Linked DNA regions of Homo sapiens: all the other regions are linked to region 3. The links are contacts of gene promoters, found by promoter capture Hi-C in human tissues and cell types (Jung and others, 2019). All regions are on one chromosome and are shown on one strand. Each heading gives the region's core, a stretch centred on a gene start or on the middle of the fragment in contact. The rest is flanking DNA. Distances are from core to core; before and after follow the strand shown. Region 1 overlaps BCAS3 (BCAS3 microtubule associated cell migration factor). Region 2 has its middle 8.0 kb from the start of NACA2. Region 3 holds the start of TBX2 (T-box transcription factor 2). Region 4 overlaps BCAS3 (BCAS3 microtubule associated cell migration factor).

Region 1 (2,700 bases), core at 111-2,610, 240 kb after region 3:
CATTGTACATCTTTTGATATCCAAATCAATCAGAGTTATTTCCCCCAGATGCACTGGGAAAGCAAAGAAACAGGAAAGAAAAGTTAAAATTAATCCATCCCAAACAGCCTCAGACAAGGAGTCCAGAGCAAAGAGAAAGTTCAATGATTTCGAGATTAACCACATTTGCTTTTTAAAACAAATACGTATTTTGAAATTTAATACTAAATTTATAGGAGAGTGATGCCTCAACTGTTTAAATGTTGTAGAATTTGTTTTTTTTAAGTGTTGTTTCAAAGGAAAAATAATTGCAAATATTAAATTGTGTCAATTACCTAAATCATTCATAAAGGAGTCCATCGTTGAGGTGGTCTGTATGTACCAGCTTCAGGGCATTAACTTATATCCACACTGCAGATTTTTTGTGTGCATGTGAATTTTTTTAGGAGTTACTTATGGTTTATAGCAGGATAGAAACAATTATTGTTATGTGCCAATTAGGATTCCAAGGATTCACATCCACAGGTTACTCATCAACTACAAAAAGACACAGTTTCATATTTAAAAATCCCTCTGAAATTTCTTACCAAATGATGAAACTCGACATAAAAATAAAAGGGGAGGCAGGGGTTGGGTAGGGAGAAGGTGAGAGAGAGAAGCAAGCCCGTTCCAACCTCAGTCTGAACCTACAAAACCAAAGAGACCATTTCAGGTAAGGACACTCAAGGAAAACAGGATCCTCCACAAAGCACGTATTTCCATTTCTCTATCTCATTTTGGCAGACCAAATATTACTCTAAGTTTCCCCCAAAAGAAACAAGATAAAACAAAAGTCCACCTTTCTCCCGAACTCAGAAAATGAAGAGGGAAAGAGAAGGTGCCTGAGATTCCAGTTTTAGACCTAAGGAATTTTACCAGGCTCAATTCCAATCCCTGAAAAGAAGACCAAAATGAATACATTGACCCAAACTTTAACCAGAGAATTAGGCTTAGTAACAACTCAGATTTTACTTTTCTTTTTTTTTTTTTTAATGTGTCTGGCTGACTGTCTTTCTCTGTCTCTCTGCGTTTGTTTGTGGTGCATACCGAGTAAATTATTTGCTGATAGGTGAATCTCAGCAAATGCTTTTCTTCCTTTGAATGCCTGGTGAGCTTGTTGGGAAAAGTCATTTAAGTCACTTTAAACAATACCATGAAAAGTAAAACTCAATTCTGAAATAAGAGTATAACTTAGAGCTTAAAAATAAATTAAATAAAGGAAGCATTAAAAGATAAATGGAGCAGGATGCTCTGTGGCTGAGGTAATCTGAGTGGAGAGGGAAGAAGGAGGGTTATGTTAATAAATGATTAAAAGGCCTTAACAAGGGCCTATCAGGTTGAACAGGAAAGCATTCTTCTTCTCTGCTCCTCCCTGAGACCACCTTTTTTACATTTGTTCTCAATGCTGATCAATATGGTTTTCATTTGCTGATTTCCATAATGCCATATGTGATCTGCCAGGCTGACATAATGAAGCTAGAAAGAGCTGAAGTCATTTTAACATTCTCGCTTGTATGACTGTCGCCAGTTTACCAAATGCCTGTTATCTGGGAGCCTGTATCTCTCTCTTGTTTATTGACAAATAGAGAGGTTCGCTCCTAGAGAGAGCAGCTCTGGGTGACCAATTTAAGATTCAAACTAAATATTAGACTTTTTTTTTTTTTTTTTGCTACCACTCTAACCTGTTATTTAAGCTTGATTAAATAAAAACAAGATTTAAGTGTGAATTATCCTTTTCTGAACACAAGTGCTCACTTCTGTTGATAAAACAATAAATCACAAAAAATAAAGCACCAATACTTTGATGCCACCAAAGCCTCAGGACATATTTATTGCCCCAATTCAAATTTTCCTATAAATACAGTGTTTTCGTTGGCCCACTAGTATTTGTCTCTGATAACTTTTACCAAAATTCATATCAAACTGTGTGTTTTAAAATTTTTTACTCTTTACTAAAGTTTCTTTAATCCATGCTCTGGCAGGAAGAAACTTAAAAAAAAATCATATGTAAGCTTCGTACACTTTTTTCATTGTATAATAAAATGGGTTTGTTGAGGTCATCACATAAGTGACCCAGGCAAGAGCCTTCCACGATGCCTGACATGTCTCATTAAAAATTCTCTGTATTGTTTGTTGATCACTTTTCCATACTCAAAAGAAAATTTCAAGAAAAAATGCAAATAGAAAAACATTTCTGAAATGATTTATCTTTTGCAAGCCAAACACCCCCCACCAAAAAAAAAAAACCAGTTGCATTTGATCAAAAGGATACTTCAACATTGTAATTTAAGAGTAAAAATATATTTAGTGCCTTCATTTACAATAAATGTAATTCCTTTTTTACATTAAACACATTAAATAAATATTCTGATGATTAACAGAAGTCACGTTTTAGTTCTCAAGAACAAAATCCCTCTGAGGCTGGGCGCGGTGGCTCATGCCTGTAATCCCAGTACTTCAGGAGACCCATGTGGGGAGGGTCGCTTAAGCTCAGGAGTTTGAGACCAGCCTGGGCAATGTAGAGAGATCTCATCTATAGAAAAAAATAAAAAGTAAAAAAATTAGTCAGGTGTGGTGGTGCACACTGTGGTCCCAGCCACTGGGGTGGCTGAGTTGGGAGAACTGCTTGAGCCCAAGAGGTCTAGGCTGCAGTGAGCCATGATCCCCCCACTGCACTCCAGC
Region 2 (2,700 bases), core at 159-2,658, 200 kb before region 3:
CATCTGAGAGCCCCATCAGCTTTCATAGAGCAAGGACAAGGTATCTCGATTTATAATATTCAAAATTTAGTAAAGAAAATCCTCACCCCCCAAATGTTAGGGTGATGTTAGGGAGGAAGATTGAATTTCAGATAGCCAAAGAAACATCAGATGCCCACCACAGAGGGGGAAGTCTAGGATGACTCCCTTTCTCAGACAATAGAGTTCTTGGACTTTACAAACACAAATATCTGGTTAACCCTCTTTAACAGTTAAGAGTCCAAATGATAGAAACATAAAAAACATCTTTACTCAAGGACCTGAGCTCTTTGCAGACTTTCTAGCTGAAAACAATTCAATTGTTGGGGGGCACACCCTTCAACAAATGAAAAATCAATTTTGGGACAAGATAAAGTATAGTCCCAAGTGCATACTAACGGGTTGGCAGCCAAGTACTTCTAACCTTCTGCACTTAGAGCCCTCTTTAACTCTCTTAAAGACTGAAAGACATCTTCTTTAGTTCTCCTATTATCAAAACTATTAAATTCAGCCTCTCAGCGACCTCTAAGTCTAGACAGCATTTTCTGTTGTCTGCCCCACCAAACTCATTATTAAACTTTCCTTCCTACACAATGTCCTCCCTCTCTCCCTTCCTTTTCTTCCTTCTCTGATCCAAGTAAGCAGTACTGTGGAATTTGAGGTCAGAAGCATGTGCTATTGCATAGGGGTACACCATTGAGAGGGATAACTTTTAGACTTAAGGACCTGCCATCTGCAACCAAACAACATCTAGAGAGCTGGGCATCTAATGTTCCACTTCGTGAGCATTAAGGGTGAATGCTATTCGTACTCTGGTCAAAAGCCCAGCCATTAGGAGTTCCAGAGAACAAATTCAACGTGGAAAATCCTGTAGTATTTAGAAAATTGGAATTGGTTCTCTAATTAAGTGATGATTAAATCTGTGATCCTCTTTGAAGACATAGCACTATTATCTGGACACAGCTCTGGAAGGTACATTTGTGAAGATGAGCCTGGATAAATGGGAACTACTCTAATAAGCTGAGATCTTTTAACAAACATGTTGGGGACAAAACGAATGTGGAAAGACTTATCCGTCCTAGTTAAGAGACTGTGATCTTTTGATCTCCGATCCCACAGTCACCTGTCAATGCAACACTTAGAAGCCATTTCAGATACCTTCTTAAGATTGCAGCTATCTGTGGATGGGGTCTGAACCATGCTTCAGCTTGCCCTATTCCCTTACCTAGTATAGATCCTTGTCCCTAATTTTGAGGCTCAGTCTGCCTGCTGCTTTAGTGAGTTCCAATCTAAATTAATCCCATTGTTTGTGCAATTTTTGATTACTGTTTTGCAATTACCCTTTTTCTGGTCCCTGCCATTTGACCGTGCCACTTGCTTAATTTTATCACAACCCCAATTTACACCATAGAGAAACTAATTTAACGTCTCTTAGTATTTGTAGGCAGGTCTAAGAGCAAAGCCTACACTGGTGAATAACTTCCCACCGGTTTTGAAGATCATCAGTGCAACTAAACCAATGAACACTTTTTAAAGGATGTAATGCCTGAAAGTAATATGATTGGCACTGAAGAGGAAGACAATACAAAGAACAGTCATGGTTCTTGCCTTCAAATAGCTTACTGTCTAGTGAGGGAGACAGCAATAGAAGCAATTAAATACAGTGTAAGTTGATGGAAAACAAGTCCAAAAAGCACCTGATTATACAGAGAGAGGAGTGGCCAGATGAGAACAGGGAAGACTTCACAAAGGAGTTAGAATGGGAGGCCAAGGCAGGAGGATTGCTTGAAGCCAGGAGTTCAAGACCAGCCTGGGCAACACAGGGAGACCCAGTTTCTTAAAACAAACAAACAAACTCAAAATAAGAGCAAATGTTTATATAGTATCATGTACCAGGTACAGGTACTGCTCTGAATGCTTTACATATATTAACTCACTTTAAATTATTTTAATAGGATTTTAATATATAACTATAGAGGGAAGAGCATAAGTCAGACACAAAAGCCTAACTCATAAATTCTTTCTCATCTGTAAAAGGGGTTAGACTAATATTATCTCCTTCTCAAAACTGATCAGAAAACTATCTAGATTAGACTGATTGGAGAAGTAAGCCAGGTGGCCGAATAGAGATACCCTGAAACAAGATCTTGTTTCAGGGTATCTCTGTGTTTATTCTCTGTACTACAAAAAGCTAGATTATGGAGCCACTTTACCTACCTGTAACTGTGGCCTTATATTATTTTTTACGTATAAATCTCAACAAGTAGTACAGGATTTTTTTCCCATTCAAACAAGATAAGTATTTAAGGGTGTGTTGCTGTAGACACAAGGGAAGTACAAGAGAAAGAAAGGGCTACTTTCCCCAGCCACGAGCACAGGAAAAAGCCCTAAGCCCTTGGGTAGAGGCAACAAAAGCAGGAGTTTAGTATTTCATCACAGAACCCAAGAGAATAATCTCTAATTATCCAGGTAGGGAAGAAAAGACACTTAGACCATTTGTCTAATGCTATGGAAGGAGCTGGTGTTGGGCAATGGATTAAATCTAATTCAGCTAATATATTTGATCAGATGCAGTTAGAATAACCTTTCAGGTTTAGACTGAGGGACTCAGGTTGCTAAATAAGCAGGAGGTAGAACGCATGACTCTGATAATTGTGGCTAATTTTGAACTACCATATCCTG
Region 3 (2,700 bases), core at 49-2,548:
TCAGGCTTTAAGGCCTGGGGCGGCGGATGCGTCCAGGGCTCGGATGCCCGCGGTGGAGAAAGGGCTCCCAGCCCGGTGAGGCGGAGGGCTCGGCTGACCCGGGGCTCGCTGCCAGGAACCGAGCAACCAGCGTGGGGTTAGCTGGGCCCAGGTCCCACTAGGGGCTTCGGGGTCGGAGCAGAGTCTGAGAGAGGCTGAATTTCCCCCGAGCTCGGAGACGGACCCGGACGCAGAAGAGCGAGAGCGCGGGGCGGAGGAGACCGCCAGGGCCAAGCCGCGGGGCCTCCTCTGCGCTGGGACTCAGAACGGTTGGGGCTATTCTTTAGCAGTATGTTTTCGTTTTATTTCATTCGGAGGATTTTAGCGTTTTTGTTTTAAAAAAAAATCGCTCCGGTGCCAAACGAGAAAAGTCAACTTGGTTGTCCGTGGGAGCGAAGCGTGGCGTCAGGGCCAGAACCTGGAGCCGGGAGCCGGGAGCCGGGAGTCCCCAGCTCTGCTCTGATCCGTGCAGTCCCGTGCCCCAGCCCGCCCGCCCGCCCGCGCGCCTTCCAGCCGGCCGGCAGCCCTACCTCCCGGACTTGGTGATGACCATCTCCGTGCCTAGCTTGTGGAACTGGTCCCACAGCTCCTTGGCCTCCAGCGTCACCTTGGGGTCGTCCTCCACCTCGTCCTCGGGCTCCAGGCTCTTGAGGGAGCGCAGATGCGCGGCGGGCGGGTGCGGGCCCAGTGCCGAGACGTGCAGCCCCGCCTCGGCCGCTGCTGCCGCCGCCGCCGCCGCGGCCGCCGCCCCCGCCAGGCCCGGGTCGGGCAGCGGCTTGGCCAGCGCGCCGGGCGGCAGCGCGAGTGCCGGGAAGAAGGAGGGCTGCGCCGCCGCCAGAAAGGCGGACATGGGGAAGTCGGCGGGCCGTGGCGCGTGGAACGGGTGGTAAGCCATGGCGCTGGCCGCCAGCGCCGGCTCTCTCATCGGGACATCCGGCCCAGGCGCCCGGGGGCCGGGGCCGGGGCCGGGGGCGCGCGGCTCGGACCCCCGGCCCGGGCGGCGGCGCGCGCGGTGGACGGACGACCCGGGTGGCGGGCGCAGCAGCTGCTCCTCGGGGCTTCCCGTCCGGCGCACCGCAAGGGGCACCCGGCTCTGTGCGCGGGGGCGGCGGGGGCTCTGCGCGGGGCCGGGCTGGGCCGGGCTGAGCTGGCCCGCTCCGGCGCCGGGGACCACGCGCGACTGGTTAGATCTTGTCGTGATCTCTGGAAAACTGTGACTATCTCACATGTCCTGCCCAGCTCGGATCCCCTGCGCTAACGAGCCAGGCCCCCCTTGATTGCTGATTTTACGCTTTTTGGACCAATTGTGGGTCTCCGGGGGCGGGGTTTTGACAGCTCAGGCCAAGCTCCGGCCGGGAGGGGGGGCCTGGGAGAAGGTGTCGGAAGCCTCAGCAGTAAGAAAACATGTCAACAGAATAAAATATTAACCAATGACGGGCCGCCGGGCCCCGAGACCCCTCCTCCTGCCCCGGCCCCCACCGCCCGCCCGCGCCTGCGGCTGCCTGCGCCGGACTGGAGAGCGCGGAGGGCCGACCTGACCCGCCGAAAGGGCCTGAGGCGAGGGGAGCCCGGGTCCCGGGGCCTTGGGGAAGGACCCGCAGCCGCACGCCGGCCCCAAGTGCAAAGCATTGACACGACCCCGAGCGGAGAGGGGGCGCCCTCCTTCTCCCGCGCCCAGAGGCCCGGCCGCTCTGGCCCGAGCCCCAGCCTGGCCTCCGACCCAGCTCCGGGTCGTGGCGCCGCCTGGGGGTCCCTGCGCCCCGGAAAGAGACAGCAGGCACTGGAAAGCGAGGCCGGTGGGCGGGCGAGTCGGGAGGCTCGGGCGGCCGAGGTCCGGGAGCGGATCCCAGGTGGCGGGAGCTGGTGAGTGGAGCCATGGCCGAGCCCTGCTGGGGCCGGCGCGGGCGGGAGCGGGACGCGGCCTTGCGCTGGGGAAACGCGGGGACCCCCTACCCGCGCCCGCCTTCACCGGAAGACTCGGAAGGAACCTGGAGTTCTCCGCAGGCCCGGGCCCCGCCCTGAGCTTTCCAGCGGCCGGGAGGAGCGGATCCTCGGGGCCAGGAAGGTGAGCGCACCTTTCGCTGAGCACAGGGCGGCACCGCGCGGGCGGACCCCGGATTCTCCACCCGCGACCCAACGAATTTTCGCCCTATCCGGTACCGGAGACGAAAGTCTCCTTCTTCCGAAATACCGGCTTCCTCTCTTCGCCCTGCCAACCACTTTTTTAGTTTCTTCTCATCTCTCGGAAGCGCACGTCTCCTAAGTTAAGGAGTGCTGAGTAACGCGTGAGGGAGTTGGGGTGTCTGCGAGCACCTGTGATTGAAGCCCCCTCTTCTGTGATCAGTCTTCGTTTTCTGTCTTCCGGCAGCCTCAGTTTCCCCCCCATGAAGTGATGGTGTGTGTGTGTGTGTGTGTGTGTGTGTGTGTGTGTGTGTGTGTGTCGGGCCCCGTGTGGTGCCCTCTGTGCGCAGCGAGAGCTATAACTCAAGGTGTGCACGGGGAGAGTGAAGCGACCACGCACCTGCTTCCAATCGGGCTCGGGCGCGAACACTCAGGCTGATTCCTGAAGGTCGTTTTCTGAAGGAAAAGACAGAGCATGCACTAGCCACGGGTGACATTCCCACCCGTACAACCGCGTGGTGGGCGCGTACATCCAACATT
Region 4 (2,700 bases), core at 166-2,665, 230 kb after region 3:
TCACAAATTTTGATATGTTTTAATTTTCATTTAGTTCAAAACAATTTTTTTTTTTTTGGAGACAGAGTCTTGCTTTGTCACCCAGGCTGGGGTGCAGTGGCGTGATCTCAGTTCACTGCAACCTCTGCCTCTCGGGTTCAAATGATTCTCATGCCTCAGCCTCCCAAGCAGCTGGGACTACAGGTGTGCACCACCATGCCTGGCTAATTTTTTCTATTTTTAGTAGAGATGGGATTTCAGTGTTGGCCAGGCTGGTGTCAACTCCTGGCTTCAACTGATCCTCCCGCCTTGGCCTCCCAAAGTGCTAGGAATAACAGGCATGAGCCACCGTGCCCAGCCTCAAAACAATTTCTAATTTTCCTTTTTATTTCTTAAATCCATGAGTTATTTAGATGTGCTAGGTTCCAAATATTTGGTGATTTTTCCAAATCCCTTAAGGCTACTGATTTCTAATTTAATTCCATTGTGGTCAGAAGACACTTTGTATGACTTAAATCCTATTTATTTATTTATTTATTTGAGATGGAATCTTGCTCTGTCGCCCAGGCTGGAGTGCAGTGGCGTCATCTCAGCTCACTGCAAGCTCCGCCTCCCGGGTTCACGCCATGCTCCTGCCTCAGCTTCCCAAGTAGCTGGGACTACAGGTGCCCACCGCCACGCCCGGCTAATTTTCTTTTTGTATTTTTAGTAGAGATGGGTTTCACCGTGTTAGCCAGGATTGTCTCGATCTCCGGACCTCGTGATCCGCCCGCCTTGGCCTCCCAAAGTGCTGGGATTAAAGGCATGAGCCACCGCGCCCAGCCAATCCTTTAGATTTATTGAGGCTTGCTTTAGGACTCAGAATATGAATTATTTTCATTATTATTTTTTGAGACGGAGTCTCGCTCTGTCGCCCAGGCTGGAGTGCAGTGGTGCGATCTCAGCTCACTGCAAGCTCTGCCTCCTGGGTTCACGCCCTTCTCCCTCCTCAGCCTCCCGAGTAGCTAGGACTACAGGCGCCAGCCACTAAGCCCGGCTAATTATTTTTTTGTATTTTTAGTAGAGACGGGGTTTCACCGTGTTAGCCAGGATGGTCTCGATCTCTGGACCTCGTGATCCGCCCGCCTCGGCCTCCCAAAGTGCTGGGATTAGGCGTAAGCCACCACGCCCGGCCAGAATATGAATTATTATAGTAAATAGTTTGTGTGCACTTGGAAAGAAGGTGGTTCTGCCGTTGGTAGTGTTTTTTGTTTTTCAGTAAATGTCAACTAGATTAAGTTGGTGATTAGTGTTATTCTAAATATTCTATCTCCTTCTTGCTGATTCTTTGTCTATTCTATTGAGGACTGAGAAAGAGATGTTGAATCTCCAACTATAATTGTGTGTTCACCCAATTCTACATGTAGTTCTATCAGTTTTGTTTCATGTGTTTTGAAGCTCTGTAATGAGGCAAACATTCAGAACTGATATGTTCTCTTCACGAACTGACCCCTTTGTAATTATGAAATGTTTCCTTATTCTGTGATAATATTCTTTGTTCTGAAGTCTACTTTGTCTATTAATATAGCCATTCCTGCTTTTTAAAGCTTCCTGTTTGCTGGGTATGGTGGCTCACACTGGTAATCGTAACACTTTGGAAGGCCAAGGTGAGAGAATCACTTAATTCCAGAAGTTCAAGAACAGCCCGAACAACACAGTGAGACTCCATTTCTACAAAAAAAAAAAAAAATTTTTTTTTAATTAGCAGGGCATGGTGGCACATGCCTGAAATCCCAGCTACTCAGGAGGCTGAAGCAGGAGGATGACTTGAGCCCAGGAGTTTGAGGCTGCAGTGAGCTGTAATCATGTCACTGCATATCAGCCTTGGCAACAGACGCTGTTTCAAAAAAAAAATAAAATAAAATTAGTATTAGCATAATATATCATTATTTCTATCCTTTTACTTTTGTCCTATTCATGTCTTTATATTTAGGTGAGATTTTTATGGGCAAGATGTAGGTGATTCTTGCCTTTTTTATCCAATCTTACATTTCCTGTCTTTTAATTGAGTGTTTAGACCATTTACATTCAATATGACTTTTGATATGGCCAAGTTTAAATCTACCATCTTGCTAAATGTTTTCTATTAGTTCATACATTTATTCTTTGTTCCATTTTTTTCTTTTTGGTTCCCATGTGTTGTTTTGGATCTACTGAATATTTTTAGGATGCCATTTTTATCTCATTTGTTAACTGATTAGCTACACCTATGTTACTTTAGAGGCTGCTTTAGAATGTATAGCATATATTTGTAACTTATCCAAGTCTACACATTTAGGATGTATTATATCACTTCATGTACAGTGTAAGAACCTTACAACATTTTTCTCTTTATCACTGATTATAAGCGACTTAATTAGGAGGTGCCGTGGGTCTTGCTTTTTTTTAAGCAAGGAAGGCTACAGGAATTTAGAGGAAATTTTGCCCCACTTTTGACACAAAAATCTTGTATCACTTTACCTGCAAATTATGAGATTTTCCAATCTGGCTAATGGGAACAGAAATCACTCCCAGCCCTGCATAAGCTCCAGCGAATGTTCCCTCTGATCTTTTTAAGTGGCTCTTTCCTGGGCCTTGGGTAGTTTCCCATGTGCTCAGCTGAAGGCTTGCAGGATGTCCTCTGTAGATCTCTAGAATGTTCTCTCTCCGTGTACAGCTCTTTCCTCTCGGGGACTCTGCCCT

Evidence for each region. Contacts are between HindIII fragments. The study calls those that stand out against the background at their distance.
Region 1: a fragment that was not itself captured here is called in contact with the fragment with the promoter of TBX2 in region 3 in 1 of the 25 tissues and cell types used here (adrenal gland).
Region 2: a fragment that was not itself captured here is called in contact with the fragment with the promoter of TBX2 in region 3 in 2 of the 25 tissues and cell types used here (mesendoderm cells and thymus).
Region 4: a contact is called between a fragment that was not itself captured here and the fragment with the promoter of TBX2 in region 3, in 2 of the 25 tissues and cell types used here (IMR-90 fibroblasts and mesendoderm cells).

The regions. Positions count from the first base shown.
Region 1 is chr17:61,154,481-61,157,180 of GRCh38, reverse strand. All of the region lies in intron 22 of BCAS3 (BCAS3 microtubule associated cell migration factor), which reads right to left. Among named protein-coding and RNA genes, the nearest start is that of BCAS3-AS1, 20 kb to the right of the region's middle. The HindIII fragment of the contact is 4,324 bases long and covers 1-2,700 here.
Region 2 is chr17:61,597,866-61,600,565 of GRCh38, reverse strand. No RefSeq gene overlaps it. Among named protein-coding and RNA genes, the nearest start is that of NACA2, 8.0 kb to the right of the region's middle. The HindIII fragment of the contact is 4,338 bases long and covers 1-2,700 here.
Region 3 is chr17:61,398,441-61,401,140 of GRCh38, reverse strand. It overlaps TBX2 (T-box transcription factor 2), which reads right to left and starts at 1,298. Exons shown (of 7, transcript NM_005994.4): 1 at 570-1,298. The coding sequence starts at 964. TBX2-AS1 (TBX2 antisense RNA 1) reads left to right here and starts at 1,535. Exons shown (of 2, transcript NR_125751.1): 1 at 1,535-1,902. RefSeq lists a cis regulatory region at 1,214-1,225 and promoters at 1,214-1,461, 1,081-2,341. The HindIII fragment of the contact is 8,441 bases long and covers 1-2,700 here.
Region 4 is chr17:61,170,807-61,173,506 of GRCh38, reverse strand. The region is part of intron 22 of BCAS3 (BCAS3 microtubule associated cell migration factor); the gene reads right to left. Among named protein-coding and RNA genes, the nearest start is that of BCAS3-AS1, 36 kb to the right of the region's middle. The HindIII fragment of the contact is 7,372 bases long and covers 1-2,700 here.